Regions from separate parts of the Homo sapiens genome. Here region 2 is linked to region 1. Evidence: promoter capture Hi-C in 16 types of primary human blood cells and fetal thymus (Javierre and others, 2016). All regions are on one chromosome and are shown on one strand. Each heading gives the region's core, a stretch centred on a gene start or on the middle of the fragment in contact. The rest is flanking DNA. Distances are from core to core; before and after follow the strand shown.

What was found. The method cuts DNA at HindIII sites, captures the fragments that hold promoters and counts their contacts. A CHiCAGO score of 5 or more calls a contact.
Region 2: a contact is called between a fragment that was not itself captured here and the fragment with the promoter of B4GALNT1 in region 1, in 5 of 17 cell types (total CD4 T cells, naive B cells, total CD8 T cells and 2 more). The highest score is 7.4, in total CD4 T cells.

The regions. Positions count from the first base shown.
Region 1 is chr12:57,631,692-57,635,398 of GRCh38, reverse strand. B4GALNT1 (beta-1,4-N-acetyl-galactosaminyltransferase 1) reads left to right here and starts at 2,198. Exons shown (of 11, transcript NM_001478.5): 1 at 2,198-2,627; 2 at 3,266-3,484. The coding sequence starts at 3,267. RefSeq lists a silencer at 2,165-2,464 and an enhancer at 2,007-2,968. The HindIII fragment of the contact is 8,071 bases long and covers 1-3,707 here.
Region 2 is chr12:57,469,778-57,473,484 of GRCh38, reverse strand. GLI1 (GLI family zinc finger 1) reads right to left here. Exons shown (of 12, transcript NM_005269.3): 12 at 1,217-3,168. The coding sequence ends at 1,424. ARHGAP9 (Rho GTPase activating protein 9) reads left to right here. Exons shown (of 18, transcript NM_032496.4): 18 at 797-1,216. The coding sequence ends at 968. Among named protein-coding and RNA genes, the nearest start is that of ARHGAP9, 8.2 kb to the left of the region's middle. The HindIII fragment of the contact is 4,786 bases long and covers 1-3,707 here.

The DNA.
Region 1 (3,707 bases), core at 949-3,448:
AATTCTCCTGCCTCAGCCTCCAGAGTAGCTGGGATTACAGGCACTCATCACTATGCCCGTCTAATTTTTGTATTTTTGGTAGAGACAGGGTTTCACCATGTTGGCCGGACTGGTCTCGAACTCCTGACCTCAAGTGATCCACCCACCTCGGCCTCCAAAATGCTGGGATTACAGGCATGAGCCACCGTGCCCAGCCTGTTTCTTTTATACAGAGAAAATATTCCTTACTTGGGGTCTGTCTGTTTCTTTGTATTTAAAATCAAGTTATGTATTCCCAGCCACATCACTACATAAATGATGTCATGCTTTCTCCGGGGAACATTTCTGGAGGCACATGATATTCTTCTGTCCCTCATTGGTGATGTTAATTTTGGCCAGCAAGTCAAGGTGCTGTCTGCTTTTCCCACTGCGCGGTTACAATTTTTCCTCTTGCAACGAATAAGCCAACTATGGGGAGATACTTTAAGCTACGTACATAAGCTGCTTCTGTCAAACTTTCCCCCTAGAATTAGCATTCATTGATAATTCTTGCCCAAACCAACTTTTACTCTGATGGTTGCAAAATAGTTATTTTCATGGGGGGAGGGGGGAGGAATAGCTTTAGGAGATATACCTAATGCTAAATGACGAGTTAATGGGTGCAGCACACCAGCATGGCACATGTATTCATATGTAACTAACCTGCACATTGTGCCCATGTACCCTAAAACTTAAAGTATAATAATAATAAAATAAAATTTTAAAAAATAGTTATTTTCCAACTCCATCAGCTCCCTCCACATTTATTAATTGGCATTCTCCCTTCTCCTTCATTCATTTAATTAATTAATTAATTAATTATCTATGTATTATCAGTGTGGAGTCATGGATTCCTATGTTTTCAATGGTTCATAATTCATTCCTGGTCATCTCCGCTGGGGGCACCAACCAGATAAAGTATACCTGTCTTATATGTTACAAATATTTTTTCACAGTTTGTCATTTCTCTCTCAAATTTAGTGTATGTTAATTTCTTCACTCAAGTTTTTCATATAGTCAGATTTATTAATATTTCCCTTTACATCTGGCTTAGAGATCTCTTCCCTACTCCAAGATCATAAACAAAACAAAAATTCCATGATTTCTTCTTTTGAGACAGAGTCTCGCTCTGTCACCCAGGCTACAGTGCCATGGCACCATCTCAGCTCACTGCAGCTTCAACTTCCCGAGCTCAAGCAATCTTCCCACTTCAGCCTCCTAAGTAGTTGGACTACAGGTGTGAGCCATCTTGCTGGGCTAATTTTTAAATTTTTTGTAGAGACGGGGGGGGGGGGGGGTCTCACCATGTTGCCCAGGCTGGTCTCGAACTCCTGGTCTCCTATCGCAGCCTCCCAAAGTGCTGAGATTACAAGCATGAGCCACTGCGCCGGGTTTCATGATTTCTTTCACTACTTTTATGATTTCACCTTTAATATTAAAATATTTAATACATTTGGAATTTTGGTGTAAGAAGTGTAGAGATTCCACTTTCACCCCAGCTGATTAGTCATTTGTTTGTATAAAATTCATTCATTCAATAATCCACCACACACACACACACACACATATTTTCGTTATGTTCTATATTTCTTGTTATATCTTTTTTTCCTATTGAATCTTGATGCATCTTTTATTAGAACCACGGAGCCACAGAACTCCGATTCTCGGCAATGTGAGGTATCAGGCTATGACCTAAGGCTTGCAAGCAGAACTACCGCCAATCTGGCCTCTCTGGGGTTCCCTTCCTCCTGCAAGGTTGCACCAAGCGGCAGTTCGGGGAAATAGGGCCTTCAATTACCCAGTGTGTATCTCTTGAGTGTCTGTTAAATAATGGGGGGCAGGGCGGGGAGGAGGGGGAGAGGGAGGCTGTGCCTCAGTCTTTGTTAGCCAGGCAGAGCGTTTATTTTCCAGGGGTTGTTTCCTTTATCTTCATCCTAACATTCAAACTTGACTTGAGTTTTAGCGCGCCCCCGCCCTACCTCCTCCCAAAGCCCTTATTTGCCCATCCTTGCCTACAAGCTCAGAACGAGCAGGCAATGGAATGGATGTCGTGGGAGCAGGCGGTTGAGATGCCAGTGTTTGGAGGCTAAGGACTGGGGGCTGTGAGCGAGGACCTTCCCGCGTTTGCTCCGCGCCCCCGCAGTTTCCTCCGCGCCCACTAGAAGGCGCCGGGGCGCTCGCATTCCCCGCGCGGAGCCGAAGCAGCCGCAACGAGCCGGGAGCTGAGCCGCGCTGCGCTGCGGTGCGAAGAGCCGGGCGGCGGCCAGAGCCCTCCCCGCGCTGCCAGTGGGACGCGGAGCCAGGGATCCCCGGCTTTGCCCCGGGGCTGGGGTGCAACAGACTCTTAACTTGGTCCTCGCGCCCCGCCAACCGCCCCCGGGCAGGAAACGCCCAGAACCACCACCGCGCCGCGCTCCACAAAAGCCCCGGGAGTTCCAAGACGGGAGGGATCGGGCGCGCTCCAGAGGCAGGAGGGTCCCCCACACCCTCAGGCTCATGCCCAGCTCCCCCATCGGGCAGCCCCCAGCCCCATGAGGACCCTCAGGCCGGGGCGAGAGCCCGGCACAGCCCGGACCGAAATTTTGCCGCTGCCTTAGAGCGTTAGACAGGTCAGTGCCCGGGGGTGGGTGGGGGTGGGATTGGTTGGTGAGGGGAGGAGGAGGAGGCGGGAGGAGGCGGGAGGAGGCGCGCTTCCCGGTCCACTCTGTCCCCCGCGCCGCTTGCCGAGGCCACTCATCGGGTCACCTCCGCCGGGGGCGCCCGCCAGCACGGGCATGATTCTGCATTTTTTCCTGACAGGCTAGGTGTGGAGCCGCCCTCCGCAGCCCACCCCGGCCCAGGTGATGCTCAGACTGAGGAGTCGGGGGCGCGCCGGCCAGGGCGGGCGGCGGGCTTGGGGACTGCCACTGCCCTGATAGAGCGGGGCTTTTCCGCTTACGCACGGCCGCGTCGAAACCGCGGCATCCAAATGTCTTCAGCATTAAGATGCCAGGCCTCGGGTGTGTGAGGAAACCGAGATGCAGGAGAGGGCGAGAAGAAAGGAGGCCGGGAGACCCTGGGGCCTGGGAAGTGAGGGGAGGGGTACCGGGAAAACCGCGGCTGGCAGTGCAAACCCTAGCGCGATGTGTGGAGTGGAGAGCGCTCTTGGGAGCCGGCAGGAGCCTCTGAGGACGCGGGGGCCAAGGGCCCCATCCCTTGCCCTCCCTTCTTCCCTCCCTTTCTCACTCCCCACCCTACCCCCACCTAGGATGTGGCTGGGCCGCCGGGCCCTGTGCGCTCTGGTCCTTCTGCTCGCCTGCGCCTCGCTGGGGCTCCTGTACGCGAGCACCCGGGACGCGCCCGGCCTCCGGCTACCTCTTGCGCCGTGGGCGCCCCCGCAAAGCCCCCGCAGGCCCGAGCTGCCAGATCTTGCTCCTGAGCCCCGCTACGCACACATCCCGGTCAGGATCAAGGAGCAAGTAGTGGGGTGAGTGCCGACCGCGGCGGCGCAGCGCAGCGCTCGCTGGGGGTGGTCTGGGGGCTTTTGTTTTCTCCACTGCTGGGCTCAGATGCCTGCATTCTCCTAACGGGCTGTGTGGAGTGAAGTGGGAGGTGGAAGTGGGAGGCTGCTGAGGCTTGGGCTGGGGAAAATCTGTTCTCCCTGAACCTTGCCATGGGGATAAGGATGGGGATGGGCGTGGGAGGTTGTG
Region 2 (3,707 bases), core at 519-3,018, 160 kb after region 1:
GAAGCAGGCAACCTCTGTGCAGGAGCATATTACCAGAGTCAAAACCTTTATTTTTTTATTTTATTTATTTTTGAGACAGAGTCTCGCTCTGTCACCCAGACTGGAGTGCAGTGGCGCAATTTCAGCTCACTGCAACCTCTGCCTCCCGGGTTCAAGTAATTCTCCTGCCTCAGCCTCCTGAGTAACTGGGATTACAGGTGCCCGCCACCACGCCTGGCTAATTTTTGTATTTTTAGTAGAGACGGGGTTTCACCATGTTGGCCAGGCTGGTCTCGAACTCCTGACCTCAGGTGATTTACCCACCTCAGCCTCCCAAAGTGCTGGGATTACACCGTGCCCGTCAAAGACTTTAGGTCAAAACCTAAAGGTCAGCATCAAGTGGGGAAATGGAACCAAGATGCTGTGAAAGGAATAAGGGAAATCTTACTTCTCCCTTCCCTCTGCCTCTTTGTCTCCCATTGGGACATTGCTGATGGCTTCTTTGGTTGAACTGGGCCTGGGCAGTGACTTCTGAGAGAGGATGGCCACTTGAATTAAAGACTCCCAAACTGTGAGCAGGCAGAACTCTTGGGGCAGCCCCTGAAGTCGGAAGAGGCAGTTATATCTTCAGGTTGTATCCTGAAGGTTTCTCCACTGGTCCATCTCCATTCTCCTTGTATCTCCTTGGTTTTTTTGTTACCATGTGGAGGAATCCCAGAGTGAACTCTTCCCTGCTCAGAACTTTGAAGGGTTAGTTAGATTGCTATGAAGTGGCAAGCTGCTGCCATATATCCCCTTCCTTGGCCTTTGCTTACAGGGTGATAGCACACTCAGATAAGAATCGCATGACACCCCACAACCTGGGAATTGTGTTTGGACCAACCCTGTTTCGGCCAGAGCAGGAGACATCTGACCCAGCAGCCCATGCTCTCTACCCAGGGCAGCTGGTCCAGCTGATGCTCACCAACTTCACCAGCCTCTTCCCCTGATGCAGGGAAGGAAGAAGAGAAAACATATTTCCGGTCATCTCTGGTGGTGAGAGGCTGGTGTTCTGTTTTGAGGATATCCCTTTAAATCTCCCAAATGACTGTCTCTATCTTCATGAGTGTGACTTGAGGTGTTGGGATGGGTGAGGGAGCTTCTCTAAAGAGGAAAGTGAGTGGATTAACCCCTGCTTCTCTTCTTGTTCCCTGTTATCATTCCTCCCCAACATAATAATACATAAAGTGGCATGGTATTTTTTCTGATGCAGTTCCTTTATTATCAGGAAACAGTGTCATTATCAAATTTCTCCTCAAAACGTATACAGACTATACATAGCCCCCAGCCCATACCTCCCATCCCTGGGGCATCTTGTGCATGGGACTGCAGCTCCCCCAATTTTTCTGGAAGGATAGAAACCCCTTAGGAAATGCGATCTGTGATGGATGAGATTCCCTACTCTTTAGGCACTAGAGTTGAGGAATTCTGTTTCCCCAGGTAGGGATCTCAGTAAGACACTCATGTTGCCCACAGCCATGTTGGGGGGCCCAGAGGGAGGTGGGGTATGTCCAGAGCTGCCCCGCTGATCATGGGAAGGAGGAGGACTCAGCCCCTGGGGCTCATCCAGAATAGCCACAAAGTCCAGCTGAGTGTTGTCAAGATCAAGAGAGTCCAGGGGGTTACATACCTGTCCTTCGGGAGGAGGGTACAAGGCAGGACCCCCTCCTAGCCTGCCCACCTCAGGATGACCACAGCTGGGGTTTGTGCCTCCCACTTTGAGAGGCCCATAGCAAGTGGGCAATGGGGGCAGAAGTCGAGGTGGTGCTGCTGCCCTATGTGAAGCCCTATTTGCCCCCACTACAAAATTTTCATGGCATGGTGAAGGGGTGGGATAGGAACCTGACTTGTGATTGGGCAAGTTGGGTCCAAAGCCAGGTCCATATGTGTTCACTGGAGCTTTAGCACGGCTTGGGCTAACCTGGGAACCCCCCAGAAACTTGGGACTCTGGTAGGAAGGTTCCTGGGCGGGGGCATCTTCCCTGCCCCCACCCTCCCACAGTAGCTCCTGTTGAGATTGAACATAATTACACACAAGCTGAGCCTTGAGCTGCCCTGTGGAATGGGTGGGGGAATCAAAGTCCAGGCAAGGCCTGGGTTCTGAAGGAAGATAATCAGGGGGTGGCTGGGTATAGGGGCCTGACTGGAGATATTGGGGAGGAGAGGGCTGGGGGTAATGGGAAAAGAGAGGCTGTGGATGTGGGGGCCCCTCACTGGGGTGGGCATTGAGGCAGGGTGCCAGTCCTGTGGAGTCAGACCCCACTGGGCACCCCTGTTCTGGCTTGACTTGCACTTGTCCATAATGTTCAAGTCGAGGACACTGGCTGTAGGTTCCACCTAGAGCCTTGGGGCCTGGGTACAGCCCAGAGTGGGAAGGGAACTCACCCCATGTTTCTTGGGTGGGGTCAGGATATGAGGCCTGCTGGGGACAGGGGTTGGGGCCATAGTTGGTGGGTGGACCAGGCCCAAGAGGCAGAGAGCCTGGACCCCTCGCTCCATAAGGCTCAGCTGCTGCCCCTTCAGGTCCCCCATATCCCAGAGTATCAGTAGGTGGGAAGTCCATATAGGGGTTCAGACCACTGCCCACCATGGAGGTCCCAACTTCTGGCTCTTCCTGTAGCCCTCTAGCATCCATGGCAGCATTCTCAGTGATGCTGGGGGGCTGTGGTGAGTAGACAGAGGTTGGGAGGTAAGGATCAAAGTTCTGTCCTCCCCCTGCCACAGTGGGTGGGGTATGGACACAGCCCAGGCTCTTGAACCTCTGGACTCTAGCTGGAGCAGGACGGTCAGCAGCCTGGGCTGGGTCACTGGCCCTCCGGGTGACCCCTGCATTGGGGTTGTATCCTGGATACTCGGCTCGGCTTCTCCAAGGAGGCATGGGAAGACCACCTATCCGATCCAGGCTGGATGCTGCAGTGGGCGAAGTACCACCCCCTCTGGCTGAAGCATATCTTGCCCGAAGCAGGTAGTGCTGGGCAGGCATAAGGCCAGGCAGGGAGGATGCTCCATTCTCTGGTGGGGAGCCAGGGGGGAAAGGAGAGGCCAGGGAGGAGCGGCGGCTGACAGTATAGGCAGAGCTGATGCTGCTGGAGCTGCTGCTGCGGCGTTCAAGAGAGACTGGGGGGCCCACGCGGCGGGACACAGTGGTACCTGCAAGTGATGGGGAGAAAAGGTAGGATGGTCAAGGAGCTTCCTAAATTTCACCCTGCCTCCTCCATGCAACAGCCTTGCCCTGGATTCTCAGGGGTAAGCTCGTTATCCCTAACCAGTCTGTTCTGTCTCCTACTTCTCCCATGCCTATTCTGTTTCTGGGTTACCAAGGATTCAGGGTTGCTATGAACAGTTGTGCAGGTTGTGTGCTGCACAATCCTAGGGAACAGCATTCGCATCATAGCCTTTGCATACTTGTTTGTTTGTTTGTTTTGTTTTGTTTTGTTTGAAACAGAGTTTCGCTCTTGTTGCTCAAGTTGGAGTGCAATGGCGCAATCTCAGCTCACTGCAACCTCTGCCTCCCAGGTTCAAGCAATTCTCCTGCTTCAGCTTCCTGAGTAGCTGGGATTACAGGTGCCCACCACCATGCCTGGCTAGCCTTTGCATGTTTGTACATCACAACTATTTTCTGATAAATGGAAAGTGTCTTGAGGAAGGACACCATTTTCTAATTATACAAAAGTGCTGTGTGACAGCCC